Linked DNA regions of Homo sapiens: regions 1, 2 and 3 are each linked to region 4. Evidence: promoter capture Hi-C in human tissues and cell types (Jung and others, 2019). All regions are on one chromosome and are shown on one strand. Each heading gives the region's core, a stretch centred on a gene start or on the middle of the fragment in contact. The rest is flanking DNA. Distances are from core to core; before and after follow the strand shown.

The links. The method cuts DNA at HindIII sites, captures the fragments that hold promoters and counts their contacts. A contact is called where the count stands out against the background at its distance.
Region 1: a contact is called between a fragment that was not itself captured here and the fragment with the promoter of UGT1A6 in region 4, in 2 of the 25 tissues and cell types used here (liver and small bowel).
Region 2: a contact is called between a fragment that was not itself captured here and the fragment with the promoter of UGT1A6 in region 4, in 6 of the 25 tissues and cell types used here (adrenal gland, liver, mesenchymal stem cells and 3 more).
Region 3: a contact is called between a fragment that was not itself captured here and the fragment with the promoter of UGT1A6 in region 4, in 2 of the 25 tissues and cell types used here (H1 embryonic stem cells and neural progenitor cells).

Annotation. Positions count from the first base shown.
Region 1 is chr2:233,816,048-233,818,787 of GRCh38, forward strand. MROH2A (maestro heat like repeat family member 2A) reads left to right here. Exons shown (of 42, transcript NM_001394639.1): 27 at 734-838; 28 at 1,955-2,078; 29 at 2,605-2,723. Among named protein-coding and RNA genes, the nearest start is that of HJURP, 37 kb to the right of the region's middle. The HindIII fragment of the contact is 4,546 bases long and covers 1-2,740 here.
Region 2 is chr2:233,610,876-233,613,806 of GRCh38, forward strand. It overlaps UGT1A. Among named protein-coding and RNA genes, the nearest start is that of UGT1A8, 5.3 kb to the right of the region's middle. The HindIII fragment of the contact is 6,432 bases long and covers 1-2,931 here.
Region 3 is chr2:233,799,998-233,802,860 of GRCh38, forward strand. It overlaps MROH2A (maestro heat like repeat family member 2A), which reads left to right. Exons shown (of 42, transcript NM_001394639.1): 14 at 208-318; 15 at 2,171-2,318. Among named protein-coding and RNA genes, the nearest start is that of MROH2A, 23 kb to the left of the region's middle. The HindIII fragment of the contact is 7,942 bases long and covers 1-2,863 here.
Region 4 is chr2:233,691,241-233,694,186 of GRCh38, forward strand. It overlaps UGT1A6 (UDP glucuronosyltransferase family 1 member A6), which reads left to right and starts at 1,650. Exons shown (of 5, transcript NM_001072.4): 1 at 1,650-2,625. The coding sequence starts at 1,765. All of the region lies in intron 1 of UGT1A8 (UDP glucuronosyltransferase family 1 member A8), which reads left to right. All of the region lies in intron 1 of UGT1A10 (UDP glucuronosyltransferase family 1 member A10), which reads left to right. All of the region lies in intron 1 of UGT1A9 (UDP glucuronosyltransferase family 1 member A9), which reads left to right. It also overlaps UGT1A7 and UGT1A. RefSeq lists enhancers at 1-395, 396-1,002. The HindIII fragment of the contact is 31,227 bases long and covers 1-2,946 here.

The sequences.
Region 1 (2,740 bases), core at 135-2,634, 120 kb after region 4:
ACTTAAATTCCGTATTTTAAATCCTTTTAAATTGACTGAGATTTATTTTGTTGCCCAGATACCATCTATCTTGGTAAATATTTCATGTGTATTTGAAAAATATTCTGCTGTTGTTAAGTGTAGTGTTTCAAAATGTCTATTAGGCCAAGTTGGTTAATAGTATTTTTCAGGTTTTCTGTCTCCTTTTTGATGTTCTGTCTTTTTGTTCTATCAATTATTGAGAAAAAGGCACTGAAATCTCTGACTAATAGTGTGAACTTGTTTATTTCTCCTTTTGGCTCTTTCATTTTTTGCTTCATGTATTATTTAGCTATGTTATTAGGTGCATAAACATTTAGGATTGTTATGTCTGGTTGATGAACTGACCCTTATTGTGATGACATGACCCTGTTTATCTATGGTAATGTCATTTGCTCTAAAATGAACTTTTATATCAGAACGGCCTCTGGGGCCATCTGGAGTGCAGGGTGGGCTGTGCTCCTGGCCCTTCATTACAGGCAGACATTTGGAGCCAGGCCAAATGCAACAGCCAAGCACCATCCTGGTGAGAATGCTGGGGATGCTCTTTCCCTGCCTACAGCCTCATCTCCCTTCATGATGGGGCCTGTCTAGAACCACAAGGAAGCATTGAAAGTCGATCTGAGTAGGAGGGTGAGGTGGGCAAAAGCTGGCCAGGAAAGGGCTGGCCCCAGGATTTTAACACCCACTTTGGTGTTCTGGGCTCTACCCATAGCTCCTGGAAAAGTGGATCTTGTCGGAGAAAGAATGGGAGCGGGAAAAGGCCGTGAGCCTCCATCTCTATCTCATGTGGATTTATGTCCACAGCACTGCTGTCTGTGTGAGTCCAGGAGTCCCCAGCCCCCAGCCTGCTGCTCTGACATGCACAGAAAAATTCCTGTGTCTATCTGGAAGATGAGGGAACACTTATGAAATCAAGTTCTGTCCCCAGAGGGCCCCTTGGGAGAGGCTGCAGTGACCTAGTGCCCTGGGCTGGGTCAGGGAGGGAGAGGGTGGGATTGTGGTTGGCAGAGCTCCAGGCTTTGTGGGGCCTGTGGCTTCTGTAGCGGTGAGAGCCCTTTTTAAGAAAAAAGATACATAGTTATGAACCCCACATTGGCTAGGAAAATGAATATTTACTTTGAGAAAATCAAGTGCTGCAAAATCATAAATTTTGCAAAGCTTGACAAGTACCGCAACCCTTAAAATGTCTAGAACGACGTAGTGTTTTTACTGATTGACCATCTGACACAGCCTGATGAGACTTAATTGTCTACACTTTTTGGCTCCATGCTGTTTGACTGTCTTGTCCTCAGGATGGCTGTGGCAGGAGGATGATGGAGTCAGGGTCTGGGGCGCAGGGATGGGCGTCTGGTGCAGGGAGAGAAGTGGGCTGGGCAGGAGGACCCTGGTCCTGGGCACCTGGATGGAGGTGGGGATGAAGGCTCAGCAAAATGAGGCAGGGGCCAAGTCCAACACTCAGTAACATGTGAGGCCAGAGGCTGTGTGGAAGGCTTCACCTGGGCTCTCATGACATTCCCTGCAAGAGGAGGTGCCATCATCATCTCCACTGTGCAGACAGGAAACATGAGACTGAGAGGCAGAGTACCCTGCCTGGACTGCTCAGCTAGTGAGCAGGAAGCTCTGATTTGATCCCCAGGGTTCGTTACAGGAACAACTGGGCCCAAGTTCAGAGCTGTGAACTGAGCAGAGCTGAGTCAGAGGGAGTCCTGATCCAGGGCCCACAGATCCAGGCTGCTCAGCCTCCAGGGGCCCAGCTGTGGGCAGGGGAGGCTGATGCTTGGACAGGGGACAGACAGTGGCACCCTCCCCTTCCCCAAATGGGTGTTTCAGAGCAGGGTTTGCCCTATCAAGTTGTCCTTTACACTGCCCCTGGGCAGCCCCAGGTGTGCATGAGAGCACAGAGGTGTGAGCCCCACGGTCTCCTGTCCCTCAGATCCACCTAAAGCTGGGGCAGTTTGGCACAATGGTCGGACTCATTGCCCCGTGCACCTGTGATGCCCATCAAAGAACCCGCATGGCCTCAATGAATGTCCTGTCCAGCCTGCTAGATCTTCACGGTATGAGAGGGCAGGACATGAGGACCAGCTCCTCTGGGAGGGAGAGAGGGCTGACTCCAGGAGTATGGGCTGCGGCCTGCCCTGGAGGGAAGGATGGCCTCTGTGCAGGCAGGCATGGAGACAAACACAGGTGACCATCAGAGGGAGCAGTGAGGGGAGAGTTCACCAACAGGCCATGGAAGCTTCCAGAAGGAGAGGTTCATTAGCCCAGATTGACCCATGGAGGGCATGTGCTGGGCACTGAGGGCCTGGCTGGGAGAAAGTCAGCTCCCAGATGCCAAGCATGTGACAGAGCTGGCCAGAGCTGAGTTCAAGGGAGAGCAGGCCTCTGAGCTGGGCGGAGAGGTGGTGCGGGCAGAGGCCGCCACAGGGAAGGACCAGTGAGAGCAAAGGTCAGAACGCCTGGGACGTTCACATGCTGGAGGGTGGCTCAGGCCTGCAAAGCCAGGGCAGGAGGTAGCCACGAAGGGGGGGTGGCTGGGCCTTTTGTCCCTGCTGGTCATTTCTGAAGTTGTATTCCCGACAGCAAGCCAGACCTGCTCCTTGTGGGGCCCTTCCAAGCAGAAGGAGCTTGAGAAATGTAAGGGGGACCTCCAGAGCACAGATGTGGAGAAGATCTTCTGTGCATCCTCCAGAATCGCCAAGGTGACAGCCGGGGAGCC
Region 2 (2,931 bases), core at 10-2,509, 81 kb before region 4:
GAAATCCCCTAGGCTTCAGTTTTTGGGACTAGTTTGTGAATAATTGGTATTATTTGTTCCTTCAATGTTTGCTGGATTCATTAGTGATGTCATCTGAGCTTCACTTTGTTTCGTGTGGGAAGGTTTGAATTACAAATACAAATTCAATTCGACAGATACAGGTTAGTTCTATTGGGGTTATGTATTTATTCTTGTGAATAGTCTAGCAGTTTGTCTCTTTAACAAAATGTGCCCATTTCATCTAAGTTGTAGATTTTTTGGGCATAAATTTGTTCATGATATTCTCTTAGCATTTTAATATCTGTAGAATCTATGGTGATACCACCTCTCTCATTCCTGATATTGATAATTTATTTCTTCTCTCTTTTTTTTTTCAGATCAAGGTGGCTAGAGCTTTACCAAATTAATTGATCTCAACAAACCAGCTTTGGTTTCATTAATTTTCTCAACAAACCAGCTTTGGTTTAATTAATTTTGCCATTTTTTAAACGCATTTTCCATTTCATTGATTTCTATTCTGAAGTAAGCCTCCAGGGAAGGTAGATCACTGACCGTCATGTTTATTTTTCAAGGACAGTCATCTGCAAGTGCCCCAGTCACCAAAAGAAAAGATGACTAAGCAAATGTCTAGTACCAGTTAGGGTGTCCTGAAAGGAGCCATCTTGTACTCCTACAAGGATTATACCCCGAGGTTGTTTGTGGAATCTCTCACTAAATGTTCTTTAAGGTGTTGCCTGACACACACTGCTTAGCTCGTCCATGAAGGTATCAAGAAAACCTGCAGAATATAATTCTGTCCAGTGCAACAAATATTACGGTTGATTTTCTTTGTGCAAGGCTGTATTTGTCTGTTTGGATTGCTGTAAAGGATACCTGAGGCTGGGTAATTTATAAAGAAAAAAGGTTTAATTGGCTCACAGTTTTGCAGCCTTTATACGAAACACAGTGCTAGCATCTGCTTCTGGTGAGGCCTCAGGAAGCTTACAATCATGACAGAAGGTGATGGGGAGCTGGTGTGTCACATGGCAAGAGCAGGAGCAAGAGAGAGACAGGAGAGATGGCACATACTTTCTTTTTAATTTTAATTTTTATTTCTGGGGTACATGTGGAAGATGTTCAGGTTTGTTACATAGGTAAACATATGCCCTGGTGCCACATGCATTTTTTTTTTCCTGCTCTTACACTTTTCTTTCTTTTTAAATGCTTTAAGTTCTGGGATATATGTGCAGAACATTGTTACACAGGTATACACGTGCCATGGTGGTTTGCTACACCCATCAACCTGACATCTACATTAGGTGTTTCTCCTAAGCTATCCCTCCCCTAGACCCCCCCACCCCCCGACAGGCCCTGGTGTGCGATGTTCCCCTCCCTGTGTCCATGCGTTCTCATTGTTCAACTCCAACTTATGTGTGAGAGCATGCGGTGTTTGGTTTTGTGTTCCTGTGTTAGTTTGCTGAGAATTATGGTTTCCAGCTTCATCCATGTTTCTGCAAAGGACATGAACTCATCCTTTTTTATGGCTGCATAGTATTCCATGTTGTATATGTGCCACATTTTCTTTATCCAGTCTATCATTGATGGGCATTTGAGTTGGTTCCACATCCTTGCTGTTGCGAATAGTGTTGCAATAAACACACGTGTGCATGCGTCTTTATAGTAGAATAATTTATAAGCCCTTTGGTATATACCCAGTAATGGGATTGCTGTGTCAAATGATATTTCTGGTTCTAGATCCTTGAGGAATCGCCACACTGTGTTCCACAATGGTTGAACTAATTTACACTCCTACCAACAGTGTAAAAGTGTTCCTATTTCTCCACATCCTCTCCAGCATCTGTTCTTTCCTGAGTTTTAATGATCGCCATTCTAACTGGCATGAGATGGTATCTCATTGTGGATTTGATTTGCATTTCTCTAATGACCAGTGATGATGAGCTGTTTTTGATATGTTTGCTGGTCATATAAATGTCTTCTTTTGTGAAGTGTCTGTTCATATCCTTTGCGCACTTTTTGATGGGGTTGTTTTTTTCTTGTAAATTGGTTTAAGTTCCTTTTAGATTCTGGATATTAGCCCTTTGTCAGATGGATAGGTTGCAAAACTTTTCTCCAATTCTTTAAGTTGCCTGTTCCATCTGATGATAGTTTCTTTTGCTGTGCAGAAGCTCTTTGGTTTAATTAGATCCCATTTGTCAATTTTGGCTTTTGGTTGCCATTGCTTTTGGTGTTTTAGTTATGAAGTCTTTGCCCATGCCTATGTCCTGAATGGTTATTGCCTAGGTTTTCTTCTAGGGTTTTCATGGTTTTAGGTCTTATGTTTAAGGCTTTAATCCATCTTGAGTTAATTTTTGTATAAGGTGTAAGGAAGGGGTCCAGATTCAGTTTTCTACAAATGGCTAGCCAGTTTTCCCAACACCATTTATTAAATAGGGAATCGTTTCCCCATTTCTTGTTTTTGTCAGGTTTGTCAAAGGTCAGATGGTTGTAGATGTGTGGCATAATTTCTGAGGCCTCTGTTCTGTTCCATTGGTCTATATATCTGTTTGGGTACAAGTACCATGCTGTTTTGGTTACTGTAGTCTTGTAGTATAGTTTGAAGTCAAGTAGCGTGATGCCTCCAGCTTTGTTCTTTTTGCTTAGGATTGTCTTGGCTATACTGGCTCTTTTTTAGTTCCATATGAACTTTAAAGTAGTTTTTTTCCAATTCTGTGAAGAAATTCAATGGTAGCTTGATGGGGATAGCATTGAATGTATAAATTACCTTGGACAGTATGACCATTTTCACGATATTGATTCTTCCTATCCATGAGCGTGGAATGTTTTTCCATTTGTTTGTGTCCTCCCTTATTTACTTGAGCAGTGGTTTGTAGTTTTCCTTGAAGAGGTCCTTCCCATCCCTTGTAAGTTGTATTCCTAGGTATTTTATTCTCT
Region 3 (2,863 bases), core at 50-2,549, 110 kb after region 4:
CCTGCGTATCCATTCATGACAGGAGTTCATAGACACAGTGAACCTGCAGGTGACAATGTGTGGGGTCCTAGATATATGCACAGCTCTGAGCATTCTGTAGACTCAGTATCTGGGCATGGAGCCCCTGGGGAGTGAGGAGACCACACCTGAGACCACGACAAACCTCTGCTAGGCCACAGGTGGGAATCCCTTGGTTCTTTCTTCCAGACAAATCGCCGGGAGAAGTTTTATCAGAGGGACTTGGAGGAGAGGATGGTCCACAAAGTCACCATGGACACTGTGAAGATCATTACCTCTTCTGTCAGTGGGATGACCACCGTGAGTGGGCCCTGCCCCACCCGCACAGTGGGTCACCACGCCAGGCTGGGGGTGAACCACACATGCCCAGAATTCCACATCTTTGCTTCTTCCGTTCCTGCTGTCTGGAGTGTTGAGGGGCCTTCCTCTTCCAGTTGCCTGGAATTACTCAAAACCCAGTTCCAAAGCCAGGTCCTTGATGAGAACTTACTCTTCATCTCTGTACCCCTAGAGGCTGGGCAGTGCACGACCTCAGCATGGCTGGCAGTATCAGTCTGTATCATTTGAGCAAGTACCTGAAATGTGTCCATTACTTTAAGGCCCGTGTGTGTGTGTATGTGTGTGTGTGTGTGTGTGTGTGTGTCTGTGTGTAGACCAATGATTTTCATGGTTTAATTTTGTAAACATTCATTGAGTTCTAACTCTGTGAAAGACAGGACAGAGGAGTGTGCACTAGGAGGACTCAGTATGACGGGAAGGAGTGGAAGGAGTTCACAGACTATGGGAGAAACAAATGTGTCAACTTTTAATTGCAACAAAATGTGACGTAGCAATAAGAGGAAAAATGTACCATGAGAACATCAAGGAGGGAATGATTACTCACTGAGGCTGCAGGCTAGATGATCCCTGTCCAGCGACAGCTTTTTTTAATTGCAGAAATAATAATAATCATCATCATCATCATAGCTACAGTCCATGTGGCACCCACATATAGCAGGTATACTGTACTAGGTGTGCAACCTGTGCAATCTTGTTTAATTATCCCAGCAACTACCTGCATAGAGGGTAGTTATTATCCTGATTTTGTAGATGAAGAAACAGACCCAGAGGGATTCATTAATTTGCTCAAGGCCTCATATCTGGTAAACAATAGATCCAGGATTGAAATTCCCTTGGAATTCACCATGCTGTCTTTATGGGGAAGCCCAGGAACTGGGAGATTCTAGTCCTGGTGGCTACAACAGGTTAAGCCATTGCACTTGATGGTTGGTAGCACAAGAGCCTCACCTTCAACTCCTAGGGGTGGGGGTGGGGTGGAGAGGGATTATAATTAGTCGGGGGTGTTGAACGGTCACCCAGGGAGAGAGGAGATGGTGGGGTGAAGTTGGAAACACAGCTCCAAGAATCCATATCAGTCAGGGTTCTCCAGAGAAACAGAACCAGTAGAAGACATATATAGCCTGGTTTATTTTAAGGAAGTGACTCATGCAGTTGTGGGGGCTGGCAAGTCTGACACCTGTGTGGCAGGCCAGCAGGCTGGAGACTAGCAGGGGCGGATGCTGCAGCCTTGTGGCTGAATATCTTCTTCCTCAGAGAAATCCCAGCGTTTCACTCTTAAGGCGTTTCACCCACCTATGTTATTGAGGATAATCTCTTTTATGGATTATGCACTTTCGTCACACCTACAAGCTACCTTCACAACAACACCTAGATTGGTGTTTGACTGAATGACTAGGTACAGTCGCCTAGCCAAGTTGACACACAAAACTGACCGTCATACCAGGCATGCACAACTGGATCATCTGCCCGGGGTGCCCCTCTAGAGGACTTGGGATCAGAGGGAGGGCCCTGGATGAGAAGGGTTTGATGAGTGTGGGTTTGTATGAGGCTGGCAGTGATAGGAGTTGGGCAACAGGGATGCTGGCCCCAGCAGGGACTAGCAGACTCTCTTGCCACATCAGGGTGGGTGACACTTAAATGCCCCTGACAAAGACTGGATTTGGCGGTGGAGCCAGTTCAGGGCTGAGACTGTCAGGGGACATCTCTGGGGAAGCAGGGATGGGATGGCACCATGGCAGAGCCTGACTGTTCTCCTTAGAAGCCCAGGGCTTGGGCTAATTCTGAGCCCCTTTCTCTCCCACCCCTACCCCAGGAGTTTTGGGTGAGGCTGCTGTGCTACATCATGGAGACAGACTACGTGGAAGCTTTGACTCCTATCTGTATCAGCCTCACAAACCTGGCAGAACACCAGCTCCATGGCCAGGATGTGGATGTCAGCGTGGCTGGCAAGAGCAGGCAAGGTGGGCAAAGTTCCTGTCCAGCTGATTGGATTGGGCAGGTGGGCTGGCTCCTTGTCTGGGAATGCCCACCCCTCTCCACATTCCTCCCACCCTCATTCCCCCTTCTCCTGGAAACATCCAAGTCCAAATTAATACTATTAATGCCTACCTGGATATTAATGCCTACCTGATCATATCTAGGTCATGTTAGAATTGTGTAAACTTCCTTTGGATAGCTCACTCCTCATGTCCTGTCCCCCCAGCCCACAGCCCTGGTCCAGATCCCATCCTTGGGAGCTCCTGGCCCAGCCTTTCCCATGCATGACCTTACTGGGCCTCTGCTCTGCCTGGCTTCTCTGAGCCAGCTAGAGTAACTATAGGCATCCCATCCTCTGTAGACTACCCTCACTGTGGTCCACTCAGAGTGGGCACTGTTAACACCAGGCTCTCAAAACAACTATGCCCACCTACCATGCTTGCTCCTGTCCCCTTCCCTCCAACTCTGGCCCCAAGGGCATCGCTGGTGATGTAGGTGATTGATGGGGTCCTTTAGGATCCAGGGCTAG
Region 4 (2,946 bases), core at 400-2,899:
GATGAACTCAAAGCAAGATGCTGCCGCCCCCATGACTTTGATCATTGTAAGCTGCCAATCCTCTTGGGAGGCTGCTCCCAGCTTGGACTGAGCTGAGTCTTCGCATGCCTTGAACAATGAATTTGCATCCTGGTTATGTTCCCCATGGGGGCCAGCCCTGTCCTTGGAGTGGCCCCTCTAATCATGTTGCTCAGGCTTCTTCTCCCTTCCTGGGCCCCAGAACACCTCCGGTGCCAAACTTGTGGGTGGGAACAGGAACTCGCGTGCCAGCCAGGTGTGCATGACTAGCTCTGGGCAAGTCTGTTCTAGTAATTCAAGGTACCACCTCTCACTGGGACAGCCTAGTTTCTACACAGGTCTTGCTCTGGGACCGCCCTCAGCAGTGTGGTTAGCAGGCAGGGCCAGTGTGACCCTCCCTTTCTGGGCCTCAGTTGAGAAACCTGAAGCTCAGGAGAGGAGTCACTCCCCTGGCAGATGGGTGGCTGGGCCAGAAGCAGATACCAGGCTTTCTGACTCCTGCTCTAGGATTCTCACCACGTACTGGCTAGACTTATACTTCTCAAATCTTAATTTCCTAAAGGCAAGTAACAGTTTGAATGTTGTTATATTGTGATGTATAATAAGAAATATATGTTTGTCTTTGTTTCCTGGACACAGCTCCTGAAACCATAAGTGGTGGGAGCGATAAACGTGAACAAAGAATCTTTTGTTATTCAAAACAGATCCCTTTCGATCACACCTAAGTTTATGTAAAGGAGATGTAAAGTCTCTAAGGATGAGGGCTAGTTGCCAGGGAACAAAACCCTTGCGATTAGAGGGAAGAAAGGAGAGAGAGATTGAAGATTGATTTGATCACCGATGGGCAACAATCTAATCAATCATGCCTACTATGTATGGAAGCCTACATAAAAACTCAGAAGGGCAGGGTTCAGAGAGCTTTCAGGTTGCTGAAGGTGTGGAGGGTGGGGCACCCAGAGATGGCAGATGGGGCTCCATGGCCATACCCCCATATCTTGTTCTTTGTACTTTTTCCTCTGGCTATTCATCCGTATTGTTTGCAATATCCTTTGTAATAAACCAAACCTAGTAAATAAACTGTTTTCTTCAGTTCTGTGAGCCATTCTAGCAAATGATTGACTCCAAGAAAGAGGGTGTGTGAACCTCTGATTTTTGCCAAGTCAGACAGAAGTTGTGGGTAACCTGGGGACCTACTACTTGCAATTGGTGTCTGAAGTGAGGGCAGTCTTGTAGGACTGAGCCCTTAACCTGTGGGGTCCGTGCTAACTCAGAATTCAGTTCAGAATGGAATTGAATTGTAGGATACCCAGCTGGTGTTAGAGAATAGGTCCGTGTGCAAGAAAAATTCCCGCACATCATGGACATAACAGACAACGTCAATGATGAGGAATCCAGCAAGTTCGGGATAGAGAATTGGCAGGGGGTCCTCAGGGGTCTCTCCAAGTCATCTTCAAAGTGTTGCTATAACTTTTCAGAGAGGGAGAAGCAGACTTGTGGAGCTGAAGAGAAACACCCAGAAGCTCAGGTGAAAGCTGACACGGCCATAGTTGGTTCATATTAACCATGTGATTAAAATGGTTAAATATTAATTTGGGTTCTTACATATCAAAGGGTAAAATTCAGAGCAAGGGAGAGGTAGACAGGACCTGTGAAAAGCAGTGGTTAGTTTAGGGAAAATACCTAGGAGCCCTGTGATTTGGAGAGTGAAAACTCTTTATTACCGTTGTTACTTTAACTCTTTCCAGGATGGCCTGCCTCCTTCGCTCATTTCAGAGAATTTCTGCAGGGGTTTTCTTCTTAGCACTTTGGGGCATGGTTGTAGGTGACAAGCTGCTGGTGGTCCCTCAGGACGGAAGCCACTGGCTTAGTATGAAGGATATAGTTGAGGTTCTCAGTGACCGGGGTCATGAGATTGTAGTGGTGGTGCCTGAAGTTAATTTGCTTTTGAAAGAATCCAAATACTACACAAGAAAAATCTATCCAGTGCCGTATGACCAAGAAGAGCTGAAGAACCGTTACCAATCATTTGGAAACAATCACTTTGCTGAGCGATCATTCCTAACTGCTCCTCAGACAGAGTACAGGAATAACATGATTGTTATTGGCCTGTACTTCATCAACTGCCAGAGCCTCCTGCAGGACAGGGACACCCTGAACTTCTTTAAGGAGAGCAAGTTTGATGCTCTTTTCACAGACCCAGCCTTACCCTGTGGGGTGATCCTGGCTGAGTATTTGGGCCTACCATCTGTGTACCTCTTCAGGGGTTTTCCGTGTTCCCTGGAGCATACATTCAGCAGAAGCCCAGACCCTGTGTCCTACATTCCCAGGTGCTACACAAAGTTTTCAGACCACATGACTTTTTCCCAACGAGTGGCCAACTTCCTTGTTAATTTGTTGGAGCCCTATCTATTTTATTGTCTGTTTTCAAAGTATGAAGAACTCGCATCAGCTGTCCTCAAGAGAGATGTGGATATAATCACCTTATATCAGAAGGTCTCTGTTTGGCTGTTAAGATATGACTTTGTGCTTGAATATCCTAGGCCGGTCATGCCCAACATGGTCTTCATTGGAGGTATCAACTGTAAGAAGAGGAAAGACTTGTCTCAGGTTGGTGGGTTTATTTCTTTTGGACTGCCTTGTTTCTTCCAGGCTCTGTCCTCCCTCACTCATTTGGCTCCTTGAGCCGACTGTCCCTTGGAGGATTTCCTGGAGAAACGGTGGGGGGAAGTGATACCCGGCTCGGAGCAGCGGGAACACATAGGAGACCTGAGGCTGAAGTGATACAGAGGCATTCGGATGAAGACAGGGCTCATGCTTGGCAAGAGTAGGAGATTTGCTTAGTTGGATAATCTGGGACAGTCACATACTCATTGAATGAGCCTTAGAAATGTCCCAGTTCAAACAGAGGTGAAGGCTTGACTAAGGGAA